Regions from separate parts of the Homo sapiens genome. Here regions 1, 2 and 4 are each linked to region 3. The links are contacts of gene promoters, found by promoter capture Hi-C in human tissues and cell types (Jung and others, 2019). All regions are on one chromosome and are shown on one strand. Each heading gives the region's core, a stretch centred on a gene start or on the middle of the fragment in contact. The rest is flanking DNA. Distances are from core to core; before and after follow the strand shown.

Region 1 (5,084 bases), core at 1,231-3,730, 230 kb before region 3:
AAGCTGGAGCGCACCGTGTCGTAGGCGCGGCCCGGCGGGGGCGGCGGCGAGAAGGCCGGGGGCGGCCCCGAGTCGAAGTAGTAGGGCGCGGGCGGGGGAGGCGGCGCGGTCTGCGGCGGGGGCGGGATGCCGCGACCCTCGCGCACCGGGTCTTGCATCGAGGTGCTCCGCGGGAAGCGCCCTTCCAGCAGGGACGCCAGCTTCTCGTCCTCCCCTGCGGACGGAAGGGCCGGTGAGACCAGCCAGGGCGCTGGGCGGGGGGTGGTGCTGCCTTCGGAGAGGTTCCTGGGGACCCCGGCAACCCCCTCCCACAGAGGCCAGCCTTGACCCGACTCCACCCCGGGGAAGCCACCGTCCGGACACAATGGACGCCCGCGGCAGAACCCGGCGCGAGGAGCTAGAATGCTCGGGAAGATGGGGTTGGGACCCGTGGTGGGCGGGGAATGGAGGGCAGGGGAGAAACAGGGAGCCCAGAGCCCGGGCTCCGAGCAAGACCCTGGTCTGGGCTGGTCCCTGGATGCCCAAGCTCTGTGCCCCAGGCCCAGGGCTGCACGGGGAGGGCTCTTGTGAAGAGGACAGGAGAGAGGTGTGCGTTCAGTTACAGGATGGAGGAGGGCCCCACCGGGGACCCCTGAGAAAGGACACAAACTCTGACGGCCTGGGTTGGGGCCAAGACCTGCCCAAACCCAGGGTCATCAAGCAGGCCCTGAGAAGATATCCCAGAAAGGCAGGGACAGCCCCGCAAGACATGGGGACAGAACTGCTGAGGGGCTTGGAGGGGCCAGTACAGGGCTCCCCACCCCAGAATCAACAAGGCCGACGCAGAAGTACCAGCCCTGGAGGCAACCAGAGGTGAGAGGAAGATAGTCGGAAATGAGCAGGAGTGACACACTGGCAGGGTGAGGGGCAGCAGGGCTGTGGCCACTGGAGCCAGGCCTCCAGCAGAGAAAGACCTAATGCCCACCCAGGTAAGGAGGTGCCCTGTGGAGGAAGCCTTGAGAGGCTCCTCCCAGAGACCCGCATGGGTGAGTGGGTGAAGGGAAGAACGGACGGATCAATCAAAATGGAACTGCAGGCTGAGCACCCAGCATGTTTCATTTTAACCCCTACTGGCAGCGTGACCCCAGGCCAGGCCCTGAGCCCCTTTGAGCTTCAGTAACCCCCCTCTGCATGCCTTGCTCAGACATCATTGTTAGGGTCCTGTGCAGGGGCTGGAGTGCTCAGGGCCCTCATGCTCCTGCTGTCCAGCAGAACCTGACACAACCTCCTGAACACCCCTGTGGACATCATGATGCGGACACACGTGCTGCAGGTGTGTTCAGTGAGGCTGCAGGGGGCGGACGGCCCCACACCCACACACCCAGGTCTCGTGGTGCTCCTGTTCCCAGCCTCACTCTGAGATTGGTCAACATTTTTATGAACTCGCTAAAATACAGACTGCCTGTTCCTGATCGCATCCTCCTCCAGCCACCGCAGTGCTAATGAGGCCTCCAGTACTACACTGCTTCTTGCTGGGCATAATATCTCTTTGTAGCCAAGGTACCAAGGGTGGGCTTTTGTGTACAGACCTAGGCTTGAATTTTAGATCTGCCAGGAACTTCAGAAGCCTCTAGGAACTTCAGTTTCCTCATGTCAAGAGGACAGCCTGCAACTATTGTGGGGCGATTTCACCTTTACAGTGCAGGGCTGAACTGCAGCAGTATCCTGGGAATGGGGGAAGGGGGCCGAGGTCATCATCATCGTGATTTTTAGGTCTGCCTTCCCCCCATCCCCAACCGCTGGACAGAGAAATTGTGCCCAGTTCGTCCTGGGTCTCCTGCTGCATTCCCTGCACTGTGTATGAACACGCAGTGAACACCCACAGCCTATGTGTTAGATGGAGCGACGCAGAATGAGCGCACCTTGAGGATGCAGAAGGCGGGAGTGACGTGCAAAGATGAAATAAGGGGAAACTTAATGCTAATAGCATGCCAAGTTCTGACTTAGGGTAAAGAAAAGTCACTTGCCTCAGCATGGAATGGGGAATCTGTTCTGATACCATCTGGGGCGGGGGTGGGACCCCTTGGGGGCAGAGGCAGACCCTCTTTGTCTGCCTAGGTCATAGCAGAGAGCATTTCTCGAGCACCCACTGTGTGCCAACCTCAAGAGGCAGCATCTACGTCTACTAACACTGGCAGCTGCTGAGCACTCCCAGCATGCCACGCGGTCTGTGAGTGCCATCTACCGGGGGAGACTCAGAGTGGTCCTTGGAGGTGGGTAATAGGTGGTCTCCATGTTTATGGATCAAAATCCTGATGTTTCAAGGGCTGCATCGTGTGCCCAGAGCAACAGAGCCAGGGCATGGGGCAGGGGCCTGGGGAGTCTGACAACCCAACCAATGTGCATGCTGGCAGCTGAGGCCCAGCAGGCCAAGAGGAGCCAAAAAGGAGCACCTGTCCACCCATCCATCAACCGAGTACAAGAGGGTGCCTGAGGGACCAGTGCAGAACTGGCAGTCCTAGGAGAGTGGCTCAAGGCCTGCAGGGCAGGTGCATGGACCTAGACCTGCAGGGTCGGGCCCAGGAACAGCAAGAGTCAGAAGACCCAGGTCAAGGGAGGCAGAGACAAATGTTTCCAGATGAAGCAGGAGAGCACTGGGGCCGATCTCCAGGGCCCTGAGGCAATGAGGAGTGCACAGAGGGTCAAGCTGGACGGATATGGGGTGATAGCAGCTCTGCGGAAAGCCTGATTTGGCCAGAGGGATGGACCAGAGGGCAGAGCCAGGGCAGGCAGTCATGAGAACAAAGCCATGGTCCAGCTGCAAGGTGATGAGACCTGTGCAGGGCAGGGCTGTGAGGCCACCCACCCCGACACATCAGGTGAGGCAGAGGATAAGAAAGAAACCATGGAAGACACTCAGTGTTTAGGCCAGGGAGAGCAGGGGAGAGCGCTTCTCAGCTCCAAAGTAGCTGCAGCCTCACCAGCCTTCTTCCCCACAATCCCACCTACAGAAATAACTCTTGGCAGTCTCTGAGGGACCAGGTCACACACCCATATGCCTTTTCCACACTGCTCTGTCAGTTCACCCCATTATCGCCCAGAAACTCCCATTTATCTTGCACATCTTAGCTCAAAAGTACCCCCACCCCGACACACACAGCCTTCTGTGACACCAGGTGTGCTTGGAGCCCCCCAGTGGGCTCCATTGGTCCGTGAGCCCTGGCACCCACAATGTGCCCGCTGAGCTCTCTGCACACGTCACATTCCCTAACCAAGCCCCAGACTTGGCCCAGGATCGGCCTTGTGTGAACACAAATTGGCAGGGTCCTGAGGCAGGTGAGGAATCCGAGTTTGGGCAGCTGTGTGATCTTGGGCAGGTCATTTACCCTCCTTGCTTCAGTTTTCTCATCTGTAAAATGGAGGTACTAGTGGTCTCAACCTCAATATGGTTATTCTAAGTATTAAATGCTCAGTGTCCAGCCCGTAGTAAGTGCTGAGAGGTTTACTCCTATGTGTAACAGATGGGAGGTGTGCTGGGGTTTGTATGGACAACGGACGGTCAAGTGGGCAGGTGTGTGGGTGGACAGATGCACAGGTGGGCAGGGGACGGGAGAGTGGATGTCTGGAGGGATGCACAGTGGGCAGGGCTTGTTACATGTCCCCATCTGGGTCAGGAAAGGAGACGGTGAGTGTGGAGTGTGATGGTGGCTGGGGAGTGGTGAGGCACAGAGGGGAAGGAGGCTGAAGACACAGCCTTGAAAAGGTCCCATATTTGGGAGGCTGGGGCGGCAGGGTTGAAATAGGTGCCATCTGAGAAAGGAGGGGAAAACCAGTAAGTGTTGTCCTAAAGCTTTGGGGAGGAGCGTTTCACGGAAGAAGGAGCAAAGAAACCAAATGCCAGCTGAGGTCAGCAGGAGTGCTGGCCATGCATCCATGGGGAGGAAGGCCCTGGAGGCCGCCGGTGACCCTGGTGGGAGCAGTTTCAATTTGGGTATGGAGAGAGGAAGTCTGCCGCAGGCTGAGGAGCCGGTGGGGGACGGGAGACAAGATGGACAGTAGAGGTGACTTTTTGGGGAAAACTGGCTGTGAAGGGGGGAGACAGCAATACATGGAGAAGTAGGGGAGAGGCAAGTTCAGGGGGTTTGAGGGTCAGAAACTTCACATGCACTTGGGCTGCAAGGGAGCAACCGCGATGGAGGCAGCTGAGCTGGGGACAGGGATGAGGCTGCCCATGGGAAGGATGAGAGGTGATGGGGAGGTGGGGGTGCCCAGTGGACAGGGAGTGGCAGCTGGGGACAGGGATGAGGCTGCCCATGGGAGGGATGAGAGGTGATGGGGAGGTGGGGGTGCCCAGTGGACAGGGAGTGGCAGCTGGGGACAGGGATGAGACTGCCCATGGGAGGGATGAGGCGATGGGGGGCGGTGCCCACTGGACAGGGAGTGTCGGCTGCCGGGGGAAAGCTCTGGGTTGGGGAAGGCCTAATCCCCACATGTCCATCAACGTATGAGATCCTTTAGCTGGGGCCAGGAAGAGACAGGACTGAGAGGGAAACTGGAAACCCCAGTTATGGGCAGAGAGAGGCAGTGTCCTTCAAACCCAAGTCCACCCTGCCGGCCCCAGCCCCGTTCCTCCCCACCCCATGCAGCCCCACAGCGCAGCCATACCTACAGACTTGGTCCGTGGAATCCCCTTCCGCAAGGAGCCCGGCAGCTTCTCTGGGCCTGGGAGGCCCTGGCGTTCAAACAATGACTGTGGGGGTCAGGGAGGGGAATATGGAGGTTCCAGGGCACTGGGGGCCCCCAGTCCTCCTCCTAAGCCAGAGGTGAGACACCCCACGCTCTCACTCCAATGGCACTAGTGCCTGTGGGTGCCTGGACCCAGGAATCACGTCTGGACTCTGCCCTCAGGGAGCAGAGGATGCAGCCCATTGGAGCCTGGGCTGTGTGGGCAGTGCAGATGGTGGTACAGTGTAGACGGTGTTGGGCAGGGTGGGTGCAGACCCTGGCCGACCCTGGGTGAGGGTGGGGGAGGAGCCTAGAAGGCGCCGGGTTGGCAAGTGGGCAGGGAACAGAGACATGCTTTGTCGTGTTCTCAGCGGAGCTGG
Region 2 (6,216 bases), core at 1,449-3,948, 250 kb before region 3:
ATGTAGGGAGAGGTGTCTGGGCGTCTCTGACCACGGAGTCAGTAATGACAATTTGTTCTAGGTCACACCTGGGGCCCTCCGTGAGCCTGGTCTGGTACGGAAGAAATTCCCCCTACTCTTCTAGAACTCATCTGGTGTCGAGTGTATCAGGTAGTGTTGGATGGGCAAGAGATCTTCTGGGAGCCAGGGGAGAGAGAGACAGCTTGGTTATGGACAGAGCTCTAGAGCGACAGCTACACCCGTCTTGAATGGAGAGGTACCTGCCGGACACTCCAGGAAGCCTGAAATACAGGGATGCCTATGACCCACAGAAAGCCACACCAACCACCGGTCCCCTTCCCAGTCTACAGAGCAAATGTCAAGTAACTCAGATGGAGAGGGTAGATTTGGTGCTATGACTGCACCGGAGGTGGCTGCTGATGGTGACAAAGACAGCCTGGAAGCAGGAAGGCTGGGCCCTGGAATCACAGGTGTTAGGAAATGGTCAGCTTGGAGACCATCTGATCCAGCCCCTCCATTTACAGATGAGGAAACCAAGGCCCAGAGAGTGGAAGGCACTGTCATACGGCCACATAACCTTATCTGGAGCTCTTCTCCAAAGGCTGTTTCAGGGTTGCTGCTTGTTTCCAGGATCCAGCAGCTTGGGCCCCAGGTGCCAAATACAGACACAGCCTCAACCCCATTCTAAGCAACGCTGCGCTCTGCCTGCACCTGCTGTCAGCCCCCCCGTAGACAGCCAGACGAGTCACCCATCACGTGACCTGGCACAGGGGACTGTGGAAGGCCACAGTGATGGCTCTACGTGTAGCGCCGTGAGGAGGATGAAAGCAGCCTGGCTGGGTGTCAACAAGTGACCGCTGCACCTCAAAGACCACCAGGAGAATGGCCAGCAGCGTCCCCCCTTGGAGGCGCTCCCATACTCACCTTTCTCTTCTATATATCCCCAGCCGGCCACCCAGCAGCTCTGGGAGCCTCTGGGGAGGCCTGCCTTAAAGTGGGGCAGGCAGCCCGGCCCAATGAAGCGCCCACACGAAATGGGAGGGGTGATCTCCACGAGGGCAATGTCATTTCCCTCTGTCGCAGAGTTGTATTTTTCATGAATGATGATTTTCTCCACATATCTCTCTTGCAGAGGCGCCTTTACTGGTTTATTGTTCCCATATGTAATTTCCTTTGCTCCGAAAACCAGTCTCCAGTCATGCACATTACTGTGGGCACAAAGGTAAGCCAGGTCACAACCGGCTGGACAAAAGCCTGGTGACAGCGACCCTCAGGGCCTTCCCCTAGCAAAGGTCTGGACCAGCCCCCGGAGTCTTGCAGCCACTTGGCCCAGAGCCCCAGGGAGACGCTGCACAGCATCCCCGGGGAACGCCCCTCTCTGAGAAGAGCCGTTCTGAAGACCTCCCTCAGTGCATCCCTACACGTACTTTTTGCCGACGAAGCAGTGAGCAGCAGTGAGCACCCATCGTGAATTCAGCAAGCTGCCTCCACATGTGTGGTACCTGTGGCTGTTGTACGTGAAGATCTGGAGGCTGACCATCCAGGGCCAGGCCCCATGCTGTGCAGCCTTCCCGCCGACGATGCGGACACCACCCTGTGGGTTTTGCCTGAACCGTAACCCACAGGGGCCACTGGGGAGAGACCAGAGCACAGTTCAAACCTGGCATGAGCACAGCCTGTCCTTGTAACTCCACAACTGAGGGGAGGCAGGGACATGGGGTTGGGAAAAGTGGGGAAGAGCTTCCGGGTTCTGGGAAAGCAGGGGCAGCCTGCGCTATGTAGGAAGCCGCAGGCTCTAGGAAATGGTTCTGGGGCCACGACTTCTCAGGTCTTGTGGGTGCAGTCACAGATGGAGAAAGAGGAGGCCATAGGAAGCCAGGACAGGCTGCATGGGCCCTGAGGGATGGCCCGTCCCTGGGCAGAACAGGAGGGTAGAGGTGGGGATGCGGGGCCTGGGGACAGAGGGGTGTAATGGCCTGAGGTCCTTATAACCAATCTTGGGTGGGAGACTCAGGGAAGTCAGGTGATGAAGGGGGTCGTTGACAGTGATGGGAGGAGGGATAGCAGCCAGGGGCAGATACTGTGGCCCACAGGTGTAGGGGGCACACTGAGAGCAGTGGAGGTCTAGAGGTGGAGGCTCTGGGAACTGTGTCACGGGTGGGAGGCCACATATAGCTTGGGAGGTGTTGGTATTTCGGGGTACCTTGGAGTGAGAGAGCCTACTGGGGGGTAGGGGTGCAAGCGGTGTGAAGCGATGATATCCTGGGGCTGTTGGGGGCAACCACGGGTTGGGACAGCTGTCTGTGGGGGGATAAGGGCTCCCAAAATCAGGACTTCATGTCTTCAAGACAGTGGGGTCAGTCCCTGGGGGAGTGGGAGAGGCACAAGGAGCCTGAGGTGCTGAGGGGTCCATCTCTGGAGGAAACCACGAAAGCTGAGGGTCTGGGGGCTCCAGGCTGCTGATTCTGGGAGCAGGGGGGGTCCAGGTTAGGGATGCAGCCTCCTTTTCCCTAGCCCTGGACAGAGGGAGTCGGGGTGGTACCTGCTCCTCAGAAGATCCTTCCCCCACCAAGGTGCCCCGACACTTACTCACACGTGGCGTTATCTTTAGCAACCACGGACACTGCCAAGACCAGCAGAATGGCAGTTGGTAGCATCTCAACCATACTCCTGGCACTGCCTGGCCTGCAAGCCTAGTGACCTCACAAAGCTCCGTGGCTGCCTGGCCAATCAGCAGGGGTGACCCCCACCCCACCCCCAGCAGTCAGGCCAGGTAAGAGCCCCTCGCCTTAACTGGTTTGTGCTGAAGAGACTTCTTGACTTCCTGCATAGGCTCCCCCACCACCAGGATGATGGGGGACTCCTGTGCAGCCCCACTCCCTCTGTCCCAAGGCCAGGATCTCCATTCCCAGTAACTCTTGCGAGGTCCCCACATCACCCAAGGCTCTGGCTTTGTGCAGGTTCAGAGTCTGCCTCTCATGCGTGCTGTGACCACTGCAGACTCACAGACTGAGGAGCGGCTCAGCCCTTCAGTGATGAGACGGTGCAACATGTTTGTGGATCAGAGGAGTCAGGGTCAGCAGATTAATTGATCCTTAATTGTTGTTGGGGAAGTTTTCTTTTCCTCTTCCAAGTGAATGCTATCAACACACTTTTCCAAGAGTCATTTTGAATTTTCCTAATTTACAACTGCAAAGCCCACCTTCCTGTCCGTTGCTGAATATCACAAGGTCTCCTATTATCCTGAATGTCTCCAGATCGGCTTTCTGTGACTGAGGTGGAGCAAGGTGTTTTCTCCTATACTTGAATGTCAAGAGTTTTCATACAGCTACCTGAATATCATGAAGCATCATTTTTCCCATCTGATCATCAGGAACTAGCATCTCACCTACCAGAGTGTGACAAATGCTTATTGCAAACACCTGAATGTTAAAACATTTCCCATCGCCTGCAAGTGTCAGGAGGTCACACTCTTACCTGCATGAGGGCAGCCTTACCTCTTCTACCTGAATGTAAGATCTCAACCAGCCCGAGGGTCAATAGGTTGCACATCATCTAAGTGGGTGTCAGAAGGTCCCATGCCTCCAACCTGAGTGTCAGGACATCTCATCTCCTATTCCTGAGTGTTGAGTTTTCAGATTATCAGATGATCTTGATTTATCTATTTTCTCTAACTGAATGTCGTACTTATGACATCCTCAAATGAATGTTCAATAGGTCTCGTATATCTTACCCAGTATCAGGGAGTGATCACCTCCTTCTTTGAAAGAAATAACAACTCTGTTTTTCCACTTCAGTGCCAGAGGCCCTCATCGCCTCCACCTACAGGTTAAGAATTCTCACCTCCACCACCCAAGTGTCACCCTGTCGCACTTTCTCTACCTGAAAATCAAGAGGTCTTACATCTTCCAGCTGAATGTCAAGAGGTTGTATTTTACCTATATGAATGTTCTGAAGTCTCCACCGGTATACCAGAGTGTTGGGAGATCTCATTGCCCCCATCTGGGTGCCAGGGCATGTCCTACCCTCTACTTGAATATAGTCTCATATCCCTGTCTAAATGGCATGGAGCTTTCATCTCCTCTGCTAGAGTATCATGAGATCTCCTCTATTCTGGGTGTCCAAAGTTCTCATCTCAACCCCCTGAGGTCTGGAGGTATTCTCACCTCTTCCTGGTTGTCTGGAGGTCTCATCTCCCTTACCTGAGAGTCATGAAACCTCCTATCTCCTATATGCCCTATCTAAGTCATGACACTTTATCTCCTCCGAGTGTCAGGGGATTTTTCTACCTTTATGTCAGGTAGCCCCACTTCCTCTAGCTGAAGGGCATACAAGTTCTATTTCGTGACTTGAATGTGAATAGGTTTCAGCTGCACTACTGAGTGTTAGCGGACCTCACTTATTTTAACTGAGCATCAAGTTGTGTCTCATAAATAACCAGAAAAAGACTTTGGAAATATGGTTCAAGAAATGGCAAGAAGAATTGAAGAAGTGGGCCCAAGTGCAGAGGCTCATGCCTGTAATCCCAGCACTTTGAGAGGGTGAGGCAGGCAGATCACTTGAGCTCAGGAGCCCCAGACCAGCCTGGGCAACACGGCAAAACCCCGTCTGTACAAAAAATACAAAAATTAGCCAGGTGCAGTGGCACCTGCATCCCAGCTACTCAGAAAGCTGAGGCAGGAGAATCATTTGAACCCAGAAGGCAGAAGTTGCAGTGAGCCGAGATCGCACCATTGCACTCAAGCTTGGGCAATGGGAGTGAAACCCTGTCTCAAAAAAAAAAAAGAAGAAGATTAAAGTTTTGACTGTTAAAGAAAATATTATTCGGGTGTTTTTAATGGATAGCACCTATTTCTTTACAAATATTTAGGAGGTATCAATAAAAAAGTCTGAAGACCCAATGTCAGTGTCTGGATTCTAGAAGACCATTACAGTTTGACTCCGCAAAGCTTACCCACTTCTGATTCTAGAAGGGGCTGCCAGTCATCGTGCCTGCCCGTGGCTATAGTGATGGTTGCGGGAAAAGTACCTGGCCCGGCCCATTTAATTTTGTCATTAAACTAATGGAAGCAACAAACATCTCAACTCAGAGTGACTTTGTCTGACCTTCTTCATGCTGTTCTAAGAGCGAAGGAGAAATGGGTGACAGGTCTGGGGCCAGAGGGTGGGGTCCCATCCGAGGGCATGGCTCAGGCTGAGGCAGAGTGCTCAGCACAGGGGGCAGGATGGGGGCTCCCCATCTCCCCTCAAACTCCTCCCTGCTCTCTGCTTCCACCCTGACCCCCAGGCACCCCTCCAGCTCATCCCAGCCATTCTCGCTGCTCCTGCTCACCCCAACCACCCGCTGCCTTCGCCAGCCGTGCCCACTTCTGTCCCCATGCCTTATTTACCTGGGCAATCCAACTCCCACCCCAGTTTTTCTCACCCTGATCTCCAATCCCTTCCAGCCCCCAATCCCCTACTTTTCCATTCCTGTCCCCACCACCCTCCGTGAGGAGCAGAAACCTTATCCAACCATCCTCAATGTCCAGCCAGCCAGGAAGGCAAGAAGATCCCAGAGGGAGTAAGAATGGTTGACGCAGTGAAACCTTGAGGGCCGAAAAGGGGTAGGTTTCAGGTCTTCACCCAGGGGAAGCAGGTGCCTCGGGGGTGGTTTAAGCAAGCAGGTGAGGGTCTGGGTGGCGCCATGGAGAAGGACGAAGGCCCTTTGAGGCTATGGTTGATGACAGCTTGAAAACCAGCCTCAGGCTGGGCAAGGTGGCCCACACCTGTCATCGAAGCACTTTGAAAGGCTAAGGAGGGTGGAGTTCTAGACCAGCCTGGGCAGCAAAATGAGGCCCCCATCTCATAAAAAATAAAAAAAAAATTAGTCAGGTGTGATGGCCCACGCTTGCAGTCCCAGCTACTTGGGAGGCTGAGGCAGGAGGATCGCTCAATTCCAGGAGGTTGAGGCTACAGTGAGCCACGATCATGCCCCTGCACTCCAGCCTGGGTGACAGGGTGAGACCTTGTCTCAAAACAAAACAAAAGCAGCCTCCATGTCCTGGCCCTGCCCCAAAGTTGTCCACAGGTCTTGGGAGTGGCTGGGGGGTGCCAGCCCACAGGAAGAGCAGAGGCCACACAATTTCAAATTTTCAACATTTCCTAATCCTCATCTTATTTTCAGATTAGAAACTGAGGCCATCATAAGGAAAGGGCTGCACGGGAAGTCAAGGA
Region 3 (6,391 bases), core at 3,773-6,272:
TTTCTATTTTATCTTTAGTCATCAAGAAGTAAACTTTTTTTTTTCCAAGATTGTTATGGCCATTTGGGTTCCCTTAAAATTCCATAGGAATTTTAGAATTATGTTTTTCTATTTTCCAAAAAATGCCTTTTTTTTTTGAGACGGAGTCTCGCTCTGTCACCCAGGCTGGAGTGCAGTGGCTCGATCTTGGCTCACTGCAACCTCCGCCTCCCAGGTTCAAGTGATTCTCCTGCCTCAGCCTCCGGAGTAGCTGGGATTACAGGCACCGACCACCAGGCCCAGCTAATTTTGTATGTTTAGTAGAGACTGGGTTTCACCATGTTGGCCAGGCTGATTTCGAACTCCTGACCTCAAGTGATCCTCCTGCCTCGGCCTCCCAAAGTGCTAGGATTACAGGTGTGAGCCACCGTGCCTGGCCAAAACCTTGTTTCTACTAAAAGTACAAAAAAAAAATTAGCCAGGTGTGGTGGCGTGGGTCTGTAATCCCAGCTACTAGGGAGGCTGAGGAAGGAGAATTGCTTGAACCCGGGAGAGGGAGGTTGCAGTGAGCTGAGATTGCCCCACTGTACTCCAGCCTGGGCGACAGAGTGAGACTGTCTCAAAAAAAAAAAAAAAAATTAAGGGAAGGACTGAAACATCGACCTGCCTTTCTATACGAACAGTGCCACTGTGTAGCCAAAGAGCACGTGGGAGGCAACTTCCACTTCCTGAAGTGTTCCCTGCGGCGGACGAGGACAGAAAGTGACCTGGGCTGTTCCATACCCAGGGGAGTGGGGGATCCGGATAAGCTTGAACGCCCACAGCTGCCCGCTGACAACACTCAGGACAGGCACCGCATGCCTCTTCCTCAGGAAACACCACTGCCTGAAAGCACTCGTGCCCACAACCAACCAAACAGGATCTGGGGAAGCCTCTAAATCCGTGCACCGATTGGCAGAAGTTCAGAGGAAAACGTTAACAGGTACAGAATCCCCACAAAGACGAATTTCCTGGGACAATCTACTTTCTTCAGAGATGAATTTCAGAGAAGATGGAGGGGAGGCCACTCTTTGGCACCAAGGGCTGCACGCCTGGGTGACAAAACCATGTAGAGAGGATGGACGGTGGCTGCAGAGCCTGTGGAGGGGCTGCTCTGTGCGGGGAGCCGCACCCGGGGCATGCGGAGGGTACTGGAGAGTCGGTTCAGGGGTGGTGGCCGCAGGTGTTTGCTTTATAGCATTTAAACTGTGCACTTGTTTTATTTTATTTTATTTATTTTTTTTGAGATGGAATTTCACTCTTGATACCCAGGTTGGAGTGCAGTGGCACAATCTTGACTCACGGCAACCCCTGTCTCCCGGGTTCAAGCGATTCTCCTGCCTTAGCCTCCTGAATAGCTGGGATTACAGGCGCCCACCACCACGCCCGGCTAATTTTTGTATTTTTAGTAGAGACGGGGTTTCACCATGTTGGCCAGGCTGGTCTTGAACCCCTGACCTCAGGTGATCCGCCCACCTCGCCCTCCCAAAGTGCTGGGATTATAGGTGTGAGCCGCTGTGCCCAGCCTGCATTTGTTTTTTGTTGTTTTCTATGAATGTATTATTTTAGCTATTGGGGTATTTTTTAAGGGGACGGAGCCCAGAGGACTTGGTGACTGTTTTGAGCATGTGGGGGTGAGCTGGGTGACTCGTCCCCCAGGCTCTGACACAGGAGCTGGGAGGATGGGCAGATGTTTACCACGGCCAGTGTGGTGGGACACACACACCTGAAAGCCTGGGACTTGGCCTCCACCCTGCTGGCACCATCCCTCGGCCTGGGCCACGCCCTGCTGCAGTAACACCCAGTGGGGCTTCAGAAGCACAACATCCTTCCAGGTCTTTATTGACGCCAGGCACAAGTTGCCGTGAGGGGTGGCGACCCTAAGGGGGTGAGTGGGGTCCCCCACCGAGGTGAACCCTGATGGCGGCTGTTTGCCCAGGGCCAGGCCTCTCCAGGCAGGCGGAGGGCCAGGCCTAGGTCCAGCAGCAGCTTGGGTGGCAGGAGGGTCACCAGCTCAGGATGCCAGGGCAGTACTTGTCAATGAGCCCCTGGTAGTAGGGCCGCAGCTTGTCCACGTCCGGCAGGTCCGGGCACTTGGTGTAGAGGTCGAACTTGCTGCAGCAGGGAGGGGCGGTGAGCCCCGTGAAGAACCCCCAGGCCCCCCACCCAACCCCCTCTTTCACTCCCACAACACCCCTCGGCGGGTAGCGGGGCGTACTTGAACTCCCGCACCCAGGGCAGCATGGCCAGGTCCTGCTGGCTGCACAGCTGCTGGTAGTCGCGGCCCGTGTGCCAGGGGTAGAAGGAGTGGAACCGGATCATGTAGAAAGCCTGCGGGCAAGGCCACCCAGCGGCTCACTTGGGGCTGCAGGACCGGGCCTGGTGGACGGGCTGCGTTGCCCCTCCCCCCACCTACCTCAGGGGGCAGTGAGAACTTGTTAAACTTCATCACCTGGTACATGTACTCTGTGGGGAGAGGGTGTCACCAGCAGGCACTGCCTCTGCCCCACCGCCCCCCACCGTCCCCCACCGCCCCCCACCGCCCCACTGCCCGCCTCTGGCCTCACCATCATGGCCCCAGGACATGAGGACCCTGTCGAGCCCACAGTGGGGCTGATACATCCCGAGCTCTGTGCTGCAGTGAGATACCAGGGTGAGGAGGGCTCAGCAGCCGCCCAGGGAAGGGGGCCCAGCCCTCAGCAGCAGGGAGCACCTGTATCGAGGATCCTGGAGGTCAGGGTTGTCCTGGAAGGTGGAGTCGCAGAAAACCACGGAGGCCTGCGGACGGCATCCGACGGGGAAGGTGTCGCCGACGACAGCCCACTGCAGAGGGACAGGAGGGACGGGAGGCCATGGGGGGAGTGGGGGAAGGTGTCGCCGATGACCACCCACTGCAGAAGGACAGGAGGGACGGGCGGCCATGGGGGGAGTGGGGGAAGGTGTCACCGATGACTGCCCACTGCAGAGGGACAGGAGGGACGGGCGGCCATGGGGGGAGTGGGGGAAGATGTTGCCGATGACTGCCCACTGCAGAGGGACAGGAGGGATGGGAGGGACGGGAGGGACAGGAGGGACGGGAGGGATGGGAGGGACAGGAGGGACAGGAGGGACAGGCAGCCATGGGGGGCCGTGGGGGAAGTGGGGGAAGGTGTCGCCGACGACCGCCCACTGCAGAGTGACAGGAGGGACAGGCGGCCATGGGGGGCCGTGGGGGGAGTGGTGCGGGGAGGCCGTGGGGGGTGCACTGGCCTGTCCCCCAGGTAGTATCCCAGGCCAAGCACCGAGGCCACCAGAGGGACAGGCAGCCGTGGGGGGGGCCGTGGGGGGTGCACTGGCCTGTCCCCCAGGTAGTATCCCAGGCCAAGCACCGAGGCCACCAGAGGGACAGGCAGCCGTCGGGGGGCCGTGGGGGGTGCACTGGCCTGTCCCCCAGGTAGTATCCCAGGCCAAGCACCAAGGCCACTCCACCCCCACCTTGCCTCAACATGCAGCCTCCTCACCCTCCACTTCCAACTCTTACCTGGGGCTCCCCGAACAGGGCCAGGACCTTCCCCAGGTCGTGCAGGAGCCCGACGAGGTGGAACCAGTCTGGGAGGGGGATGGACAGGGCAGGTTGGGGACTGCAGGGGCCAAGGCAGAGGATGAGCAGGTTTGCGGGGCTGAGAGCCAGGAAGGGTCCAGGGCCTGCTCCCCAACCCAGGCAGGGCTGCTGGAGGAGGCCTGGGCCCACTACTGTCCCCTCCCACCCTACAGGCTGCTGCATTCTGCCCCTTGGAGGCAGCACCTGCCCCCCTGCAGCACAGCCAGGGCTCACCCTTGTCTGGGTGGGCCTTCCGGATGCCCTCCGCTGTCTGGAAGGCATGGAAGGAGTTGGGGAAATCTACGTCCGGGTCCGACTCATCCACCAGCCCATCCAGCAGGTCCACGGCCTCCATGACTGTCATTTTCTTGTAGGAGAAGCCCCCAAACTGGGCATGCTGGCGGGGAAGGAGAAGGCAGTGTGGCCCAGGGTCAGCAGGCCCACCACACAGGCCTCTCCATCCCCTCGGCGCCTGGTGGGCTCATGGGGCTGAGGGCAAGGGTCCCTCCGCGTTTGCACGGGGCGGCAGGAAACGCCTACCTTGCTCCTGACGAAGTCCACTGTCTGGTGCGTGTGCATGAGCTTGTAGGTGGTGAAGACACGGTCCAGGAGGGGACCTGACTGCAGGCCGGAGGGTCAGTGGCGCCACCCCCACCCTGCACACGAGGCCCCATGCCTCCCCTCTCCCAGGCAGCCCCACAGGGTGTGATGGGGGTGGGAGTTCCCACAGGGCACCCCCTGGAACTGTGTGAAGGGCAAGTGCTGCTCCCCAGGGTGTGGATGGGGGAGAAGGGGGGCAGGACGGCAAGGTACTCACCGTGTAGTTCCGGAAGCTGGCCTTGTCTTTGGCCACCTCTGGGTCCACATCAGGTCGGTAGACCAGGGAAGGGTCTGGGCCCTGGGTAGGTGGAGGATTGAACCTATTTCACCATCATGTCAGCTCCACGAGGAAGCACAGACATTCCCAGGGTGGCTGCAGACTCCAAGCCTGCCTCTGCTCGAGGGCTGGTGGGTGACACGCGAGGACACAGCCTCTCCCACGCCATCATCCCAGCCCCTGCCCTGGCCTCAGCGAGTCCCAGGAGCTCTCACTCCCAGGTCCTCATCTGCAAAGCGAAAGTCAGCAGACGTCTGCTTCCGGGGTACAGGGGACACCACGCCTGAGCGGCACCCATGGCCACCCTTGAGGGGTGGAAGTGGCTTTGGGAGGAGACTGAGTCCACAGGGAGCCTGGGGGTCGGCAGCCGCTGGCTCTTGCCCAGCTGGACGGAGGAGGAGGGCTGGCCAGTGCCAGCTAGAAGAGGGCGGGAGTGGCTGGCCACCAGGAGAGCAGTCAGCAGAGCCTCTCTGCATGGGGTCTGGGTACTCACCACCGTCACCTTCATCCTGAGAGGGAGCGGCGCTCAGGTGGCAAAGCACAGGCTGGCGAGTGTGTCCTCAGCCAGGCTCCTATATACACCCCAGGTTACATAAGTGTCCGCAGTAATAAATGACCATCCACCCTCCTCCCGGCCTCAGGGAGTTAATGTGTCAGCACAGCAGCAGCCCCCAGCAGTCCCACATCCTCTGGCCCTGACTCAGCCTCACACTCCTGTCCCGAGCCGCTGACCTGCCTAGGGTTATCTGTGGGCCCAGCCTCCCACTTGGGCCCTGGCCTTAGACCCCTCTGTGGGGTCCCACAAGTAGGGGCAGACCCAAGACCCCACCCTCAAGCACACGCCCCCTCTGCACCACCCCTTCCCCGGCTGCCCCACTGGATCTCAGGAGGTGAAAACTTGTCCCCAGGCCCCCCGTGATTCTGGGTGGGGCAGGAGCTTGTTAAGAAAAGATGATTCTGAGGACTTGTTAAAATGGTGAGAAAAGCTTTATTCAAGAGAGTGGTGAGAGGAGCTCACCTCCGAGTTCAACAACCACAGCTGGAGATTGATGGCGTTGGAGGGGTCAGCGGATGGGAAGTTGTTAGGGCGGCCTTCGAGGGTAGGGGGATTCTCACTGGAGTGGCTCAATGAGGATCTTGCAGGAGGCCGGCAGGGTGATGAGATCAAGGGTGGGAGATGAGGAATGGGATCAGATATCGAGGGTGGGTAATTCTCCATAAACTGATTTAGAGGATTCTTGCTAACACCGGGGTCGGCGGGCCCAGCGAGGATGGGGATGGGGTCAGGCCTCGTCGAGGAAAGGACTCAGGGGCACCTGCCTAGAGTTCGGCCACAGAGTGTGTCAGGCTCTGGGAGAGGGGCCTCACGGAGAGTTGGAGCAGGCACGGAACCGCCAACACCCAGGCCGCCAACGCAACTTCCCATGCATGGGCCCTGCAGGCATGGAGGACACCGTGAGAACAAAGTGCCCGCGGCAGAGCTGGCGTCTTGGAGCGTGGCCAGGGAAGTCTGGGAACAGCAGTCGGCTGGGGCAGGAGAGAGGGCAGTGGGGTGCTGGGGCCATACCTAGGGCTGTGAAGATCAGAGTTCTGGGCTTCAGGGGTCAGGCAAGAGGGCTGTGGGCAGCTGACCTGACTCAACAAGATCCTGGCACAGCTGAGCTGAGAAGCAACTGTGAGGAGACCCCAGCGCCCCCCATTTAAACGGCACCTGCCCCACACTCTCCTTCCTTGTCTGACTTCCTGTGGCACTCAGCACTCCCTGCCACTCCACCACCCACTTATTCTACCTTCTACGTTTGTCTCCTTCTATCTCCCCCTAGAATGTCAGCCCCTGGGGGTCAAGGCTGTATCCTCACGTGTCCCAACACGGGTAGGTCACGTGCTCAGCATGCACTGGCCAGAGGGATGCAGAC
Region 4 (5,899 bases), core at 2,518-5,017, 210 kb before region 3:
TTGCCCTCCTCTGACCTCTTCATACCTGGCCTCCCTCTACACTGCAGGTCCTGCCCCACGTCCCACATGCATGCTCCCGCCAGCCAGGGTCCCTGCACGTACCTGTGTGAGGTGAGGCTGTCGTAGGAGCCCACTGTGTAGTGCCGAAAGAGCCGCTTCGTCCGGTCCTCCCGCGTTTCTGAAGGGAGTATCGGGAGCTGATGGACAGTCGTGGCCTCCAGCTGGCCTGCCTCAACTGCCCTCACCCATGCTGGTCACCAGTCTCTGCCCACACACACCCCCTTGGCCTGGTTGTGTCCAGATGGAAGTAGGGGGCCCCAAATCCTGGAGTCCTGGGTCCAGAGGTAAGAAGGCTGAGGGGATGATGTAGGGAATTCTGACCTCCGTGGGTCAGGGCCCAAGAGGGGGCAGCAGCTCATCTCTTTCCTAAGTAGCTGCTGAACCAGGAGTCCAAACAAGGCCAGAGCCGTCCACAGAGCGTAAGTGAGCCCCAAGGCTGCGAGCAAAGAGGGGGGTGTGCACATACGTGTGTGTGTGAGAGATCCGTGGTCATGTGTAGATGCTGTGCTCATGCACGTGTCTCTATATGAGCCCACTGTGTGCAAGTGCCGTGCTCATGTGTCTGTGTGACCTGCCGTCATGTGCGTGTGAGGTGTGTTCATGCATGTGTGTGTGCACATCTGAATCTGCATTACCCACACTCATGTACAAATGCCGTGCTATGTGCCTATAGGCGCTGGCATGGAAGCAGCGTTCTGTCTTCACCAACTTCTTCACAATAGCTCCTTGATGCTCAACCTCATGGGGTCCCTTGCTTCAGACTAACTGTGAGTGGGGCAGGGGATCTAGGTGTGTGGGCTGGGTCCCCTGCCCTGACCTCGATGCATCCCACAGAGCTTGGTCCCCAACTGTCCTCTTGATCTCAAGTCCCACATGGCCAGCACCAAGCTAGCCAGCTGTCTGCCCACCACTCCACCCTCACTGACCTGAAGGTTCGAGCCACACCTCCAGCCATGACCTCTCTGCTCCCACGAGCTCCTCCAGCTGCCTGCGAGCCCCACCCACCAGCCTTCCCAGCCCCGCAGCTCCACTCTCCAGGACCGCAAAGGCCCCACAGGCAGCACCACCACTGCCTCGCTTTCATCCCTCAGCACCTTCCTCATTTCCTCTCTTGGTAGCATTTCTCAAGATCCATGTTTTCCTTCAGCAAGTATTTATTGAGCTCCTACTGTGTACCAGCTCTGCAAATACAGCAGAGAAGAGAACAAAGTCTCTGCACTCGTGGGGTTTATAATCTGTTCTGGGAGACAGGATAAACAGAGGATAAAGACATAGCATGCGAATGCTGGCAAGTGCTCAGGAGACCAGCGAGCAGATCAGGGAGGGCAGAGAAAGGCACGCAAAGGCCTCACCCCCACGGGAGGGCTGAGCAGAGGCTGAGGATGGGGAGCAGCCTGTGGATATGTGGGCAAAGGGCTTCCCAGGAGCGGGGGTGGTCAGGGGAAGCCCACGGCAGGCATCAGCCTGCAGCATTTGAGAGAGTTCAGAGCCTGTGCAGCTGGAGCAGAGGGAGCTAGAGAGAGTGGCAGGAAATGAGATCAGAAAGATAACCTGCAGCTTTCGATGACCTGTTTCCCCCACTAATTGTGAGCTCCTTGAGGGTAAGGGCCACATGTTCTTTATCTCTGTGATCCTAGCACCCAGCACAGCACCTGGCACGTCACAGGCATTCTGCATGCTGACTAGGAGAGTAAATGGTGGACAGGTGCATCTGAGATAGACGGACAGAAGGGATGCTGACTAGGAGAGTAAATGGTGGACAGGTGCATCTGAGATAGACGGACAGAAGGGTGGATTGAAAGGCACTGGACCAGTGGATGGAGGGAGGGAAGGAGAGGGCCATGGGTAGATAGGTCAAAGAGCAGACAGATACATGGGTAGATGGATGGATGGACTGGGTGTGTAGACAGGTAGGTGGAGAGGTGGATGGATGGAGGAAGGGAGGGGTGGTGGATTGGGTTGGCTGGTGAGTCAACGGTTAAGAAGATGATGGTGGGATGGGTGGGTGAGTCAAAGGATAGATGGCTGTAAACATAGGTGGAGCAGTGGCCGGACGGAAAGAGGAAAGAGTGCCTATTTCTATCAGAAGGCACAGATATCAAAAAAGTATCGGGCTGGATTCCAGGTCCCAGCTACTACGTTGTGTGACTCTCAGTAAGTCAACAGCCCCCTCTAAGCCCGCCCATATAGAATAGAGAAATCCAACTTGGAGGATCCCCTTGGTTCTGATGACCTATATCTTATCCTGGCATTCCCCAACCACACCTGCACCCCTCATCCCGCTGAACCTAAGGCCAGCTCAGGCCAAGCCTCATCACCACTCAGGTGGGGCATCAGACCCCTCCTTTCCTCCATCACACCCTTCTCCACGTCGACAGAGGCACGGAAGTGTCATGGTGCTGCCTGCTGAAGAACCCGCCACACTTGCACTTGACCAGCCTCCTGTTTTCAGATGTTGTCAACCAAACAAATTGTATGGATTACATAACACAAACTCATTTTTCCAGTTTTGTTAATAAGACACATAAAAGCCAGCTGAAGAGAAAATGCCCAACACAGCCATCTCCTACTACCCACCCAAGTGCTGACCTTACTGCAAAGAAAGGGAAGGAGGGAGGGGAGGGAAGGCACAGGGCCTGCTCCTGCTGGGCCTCCAGAACACACCTGACCTCGCTTCTCCATTCCCTCCCTCACAGCTCCACCCTCTGCCTGCCAGGAGGTGCCGTGGGAGACTGCTCTCTGCTGGGTAAGTGACCAGGACTCGCCTCCCGATCCCACAGCAGGCACCGGCTCTGGGCACCAGCCCCTGCACGCACAGGGACTATGTCCCCTCCCTAACCTTTAAGTCCTTTTCTGTCCCCACTCCAGTCCCGGAAATGGATTTTTTTGGGGGGTGGGGGGAGCAGATCTGGGCCTGTTGGAAGCAGGTTCCTGTTCCTGGGCTGCACTCTGGCCTCTGGCAGAACTCGGCCCCGGGATCCCAGAGCAGAGGCTCTGCGCAGTGTGGCCAGCAGGGCCTGCAGCCAAGGTCAGAGGGCACTGTCACTGCTCCCACTCCCTGCCCTTCGCAGGCAGCCTCCGCAGGTCCCTCTCCCGCTGCCCACTCATGAAATACTCCCGTCTACCCCGGGACCTCTGACACTCACTCCCCAGGTCACACACACCATGGCTGCTGGCTGGAGCCCAGACCTGAACCCTCCTCTCCATTGCTCTGCTCTGCCCAGCCCGGGCTTTGATCCTACACAACCTGCACAATCAGACACTGCGGCTGGGTTCCCTCCGCCATGATGCCACACTGTCACTTGACTCCATGCCACCTGACCACCCCGTGGTCCCCACACCAGCCTCGCCCCTCACCCCATGCAGGCGTTTCACTCACATAGAACTTGCTGCCTGTGTTGCAAACAAGACTTTGCCCCTCAGGGCCATGTGACCCCCTAGAAATGGAATAACAACAAGTGGCCCCACCTCTTGGGACTGCTGGGATGAGTCAACGACTTATACGTGTAGAAGTGCTAAAACTGTGCCAGGCACTCAGAGCAGGCCGTGCTGACACACAGCTGTAGAGCGCCACACGGACCCTGCACACACGGCTGTCCCCTCAGCCCCAGCCGCTGACCACCTAGAGGACTCAGCTCAGACAATGCCTCTGTTTTGAGGCCCTCTCTGACTCCTTCAGGCCAGCCCAGGGAGCTCCCACGCTCACACGGCCCCCGTCACAGCCACTGCTCCCACAAGGCTTCCAGCTGAGCCTCCGTGATCCCGGCTCCCAGCACAGGGCCCAGCACATGACAAACACCTAAAAAACATTTGCTGCTCTCCAATTCTGACTCCAGCCTAAACCCCCCTCCCTCCCCGTCAGCTTCAGACGTAGGTCCAAATGCCCCTCACTCCACACAGTCCTCAAACCAGAACCTTCCTCACCACCACGTGGGGGAGCTCAAGACCCGCTCCCGCCACAGGTGTGGATCCCCCTACCTCTCCTTCCCCTCCCCTCTCCCATACTGTCTGAACCAGGGCCCAAATCTCTGAAACCATTTCCCATCTGGACCCTGCCCTATCCACCCTCCGCGGGCTGAGAACAGGGGGCCAAGTCCCTTCCACACTCTAAGCCACCAGTCAGAGCAAGGCAGAACAAGGCCAAGGAAGGAGGAAAGGGCACCGGCCCAGGAAAAGGTCAGTGGCGAAGCTCCTGCCTCCCTGGGCCTCTGCTGAGCTCAGCACAGGGCAGGGGTCCAGGCCGTACAGGGGTGGAGTCGCTGGGAAACTCTCAGAGGTGGGGACACAGAGATGGGGACACAGTAACCCCAGGCCTGAGCCCTTCACATGCAGAGGGAGGGTGCATGCACCCTTGATCCAGACACACCACCGATGGCCCCCAGTGACCATCACTCAGGAGAGGTTTGCTTGGCCCACCAGCTCTCCAGGACAGAAGCACATGCATGGATCTGGGGGCCTCCCGGGACCCCTGAGGGTTCCTTGCAAGGGCACCCCCAAGACACGCACCCAGCTCCAGCCCGGGGGCCCCCAAAGGACCAGATGGTCAGCAGGGCTGGACAGCAGCCACTCACCAACCCAGGAGCTGCAGCCTTCACCTTCACATCCTCCCTGCAGGCTGAGGACCAGCCCAGCCTCACCTGCTGCCCTCAGACCATCCCTGCCCCAGGGCACTCACCAGGGCACCTCCAGGCCCAACTGGCCTCATTTCCTCTTGGCTGCTCCGGGCCTGCCTGCTCTGCCCACTTGGACAATCTGTCCACTTTGGAAAAACGCCTCTTTTCTCACACTGACCTCCTTACATGTCTGCCAGCTACGCAGGAATCATGCGTTCCACACACCTGGTGTTTCTGAAGGACTGTGCTGGTGGGGTGCAAGTCACTGGGAGTCAATGTGGGATCACACAGACAGAGGCCCCGTCACACACGTCCTATGTGTCTCCACTGCACGTGAAGCGTCAGGTTACATACACGCATGTTCCCAAGTATATGCAGAGTGTGTGCACACGTGTCTGTGTCATGTACACAAGTTTGCATCTACTTTGAGTGTTTGTTTGAGTTTACCTCTAGTCTTTTCTCTATGAATATCCATGTGGATTTAGCACCAAGAGAGAACAAAGGGAAACTGGAAGGGGTGGTCCCCTTGGGAGCTGCCCGGGGAGCCGTGGGGTCACTCACCAGGCCGTGTGTCATGCTGCCTCATCTGCACTTCCTCCACGCAGTCGGCCGGGAACCAGCCCGTGCGGCCTTTCACGGTTCCCTCCCAGAAACCGCCCTCCCCAATGCTGAGCACTGGAGGAAGAAGCCAGACAGGCCGTCAGTGGGGAGCAGAGCTGGGCGCCTACCCCACCTCAGGAGCAGGTTCTGCCCACCCACCCCCTGCCCTTTCCCTCCTTCCCTTCCCACTTTCTCCCAGCTTTTTCCCTGGGAAGATTTTGGGATCCACGCAGAAGAGAGAAAGGAACAGATGGGCTCGGCACAGGGTGGGCATGTGGGGGACAGAGAGACACACAGATGGACACACTCGGGGAGGGGCGCAGGCAGGGGCAGGGGCCACACTCCTGCTGCTGCCCCCACCCCCAGCTGACCATGCTCCCCCAGCCCCTTCAACCGACCCCCATCCTGGCTCTGTCACCCACCCAGGGGTCACTGCCGAGAGCTCGGGGTCATCGTGCTGTGGCCAGTGGGTGAGGCCACGTGATGCACCAGCTGGGCTGTTTCCACCTCAGCCGGCCCTGAGGCTAGGAGCCCAGTGATGGCCCCGAGACCCCCAGAATGAGAGGGGTTTGTCATGGCACGCGATCCCCCCAGAACACAGGAAGCCCCGGTGACAGAAGCCTGCA

The links. Contacts are between HindIII fragments. The study calls those that stand out against the background at their distance.
Region 1: a fragment that was not itself captured here is called in contact with the fragment with the promoter of MIOX in region 3 in 4 of the 25 tissues and cell types used here (dorsolateral prefrontal cortex, lymphoblastoid cells, mesendoderm cells and 1 more).
Region 2: a contact is called between the fragment with the promoter of ACR here and the fragment with the promoter of MIOX in region 3, in 8 of the 25 tissues and cell types used here (IMR-90 fibroblasts, dorsolateral prefrontal cortex, heart left ventricle and 5 more).
Region 4: a contact is called between a fragment that was not itself captured here and the fragment with the promoter of MIOX in region 3, in 2 of the 25 tissues and cell types used here (dorsolateral prefrontal cortex and mesenchymal stem cells).

What each region holds. Positions count from the first base shown.
Region 1 is chr22:50,715,314-50,720,397 of GRCh38, reverse strand. It overlaps SHANK3 (SH3 and multiple ankyrin repeat domains 3), which reads right to left. Exons shown (of 25, transcript NM_001372044.2): 23 at 4,645-4,729; 24 at 1-214. Among named protein-coding and RNA genes, the nearest start is that of ACR, 20 kb to the left of the region's middle. The HindIII fragment of the contact is 5,276 bases long and covers 1-5,084 here.
Region 2 is chr22:50,734,686-50,740,901 of GRCh38, reverse strand. It overlaps ACR (acrosin), which reads right to left and starts at 2,698. Exons shown (of 5, transcript NM_001097.3): 1 at 2,590-2,698; 2 at 1,428-1,631; 3 at 925-1,208. The coding sequence starts at 2,666. LOC105373100 (a long non-coding RNA gene) reads left to right here and starts at 2,733. Exons shown (of 2, transcript NR_134637.1): 1 at 2,733-3,512; 2 at 3,798-5,073. RefSeq lists an enhancer at 405-1,201. The HindIII fragment of the contact is 13,172 bases long and covers 1-6,216 here.
Region 3 is chr22:50,485,490-50,491,880 of GRCh38, reverse strand. MIOX (myo-inositol oxygenase) reads right to left here and starts at 5,022. Exons shown (of 10, transcript NM_017584.6): 1 at 4,969-5,022; 2 at 4,416-4,496; 3 at 4,139-4,219; 4 at 3,833-3,995; 5 at 3,539-3,606; 6 at 2,732-2,841; 7 at 2,586-2,653; 8 at 2,435-2,484; 9 at 2,237-2,349; 10 at 1,233-2,133. The coding sequence starts at 4,983. The coding sequence ends at 2,025. It overlaps ADM2 (adrenomedullin 2), which reads right to left. Exons shown (of 3, transcript NM_001253845.2): 3 at 5,444-6,391. The HindIII fragment of the contact is 6,574 bases long and covers 1-6,012 here.
Region 4 is chr22:50,698,139-50,704,037 of GRCh38, reverse strand. It overlaps SHANK3 (SH3 and multiple ankyrin repeat domains 3), which reads right to left. Exons shown (of 25, transcript NM_001372044.2): 15 at 5,235-5,348; 16 at 103-178. Among named protein-coding and RNA genes, the nearest start is that of SHANK3, 28 kb to the right of the region's middle. RefSeq lists an enhancer at 1-462. The HindIII fragment of the contact is 9,753 bases long and covers 1-5,899 here.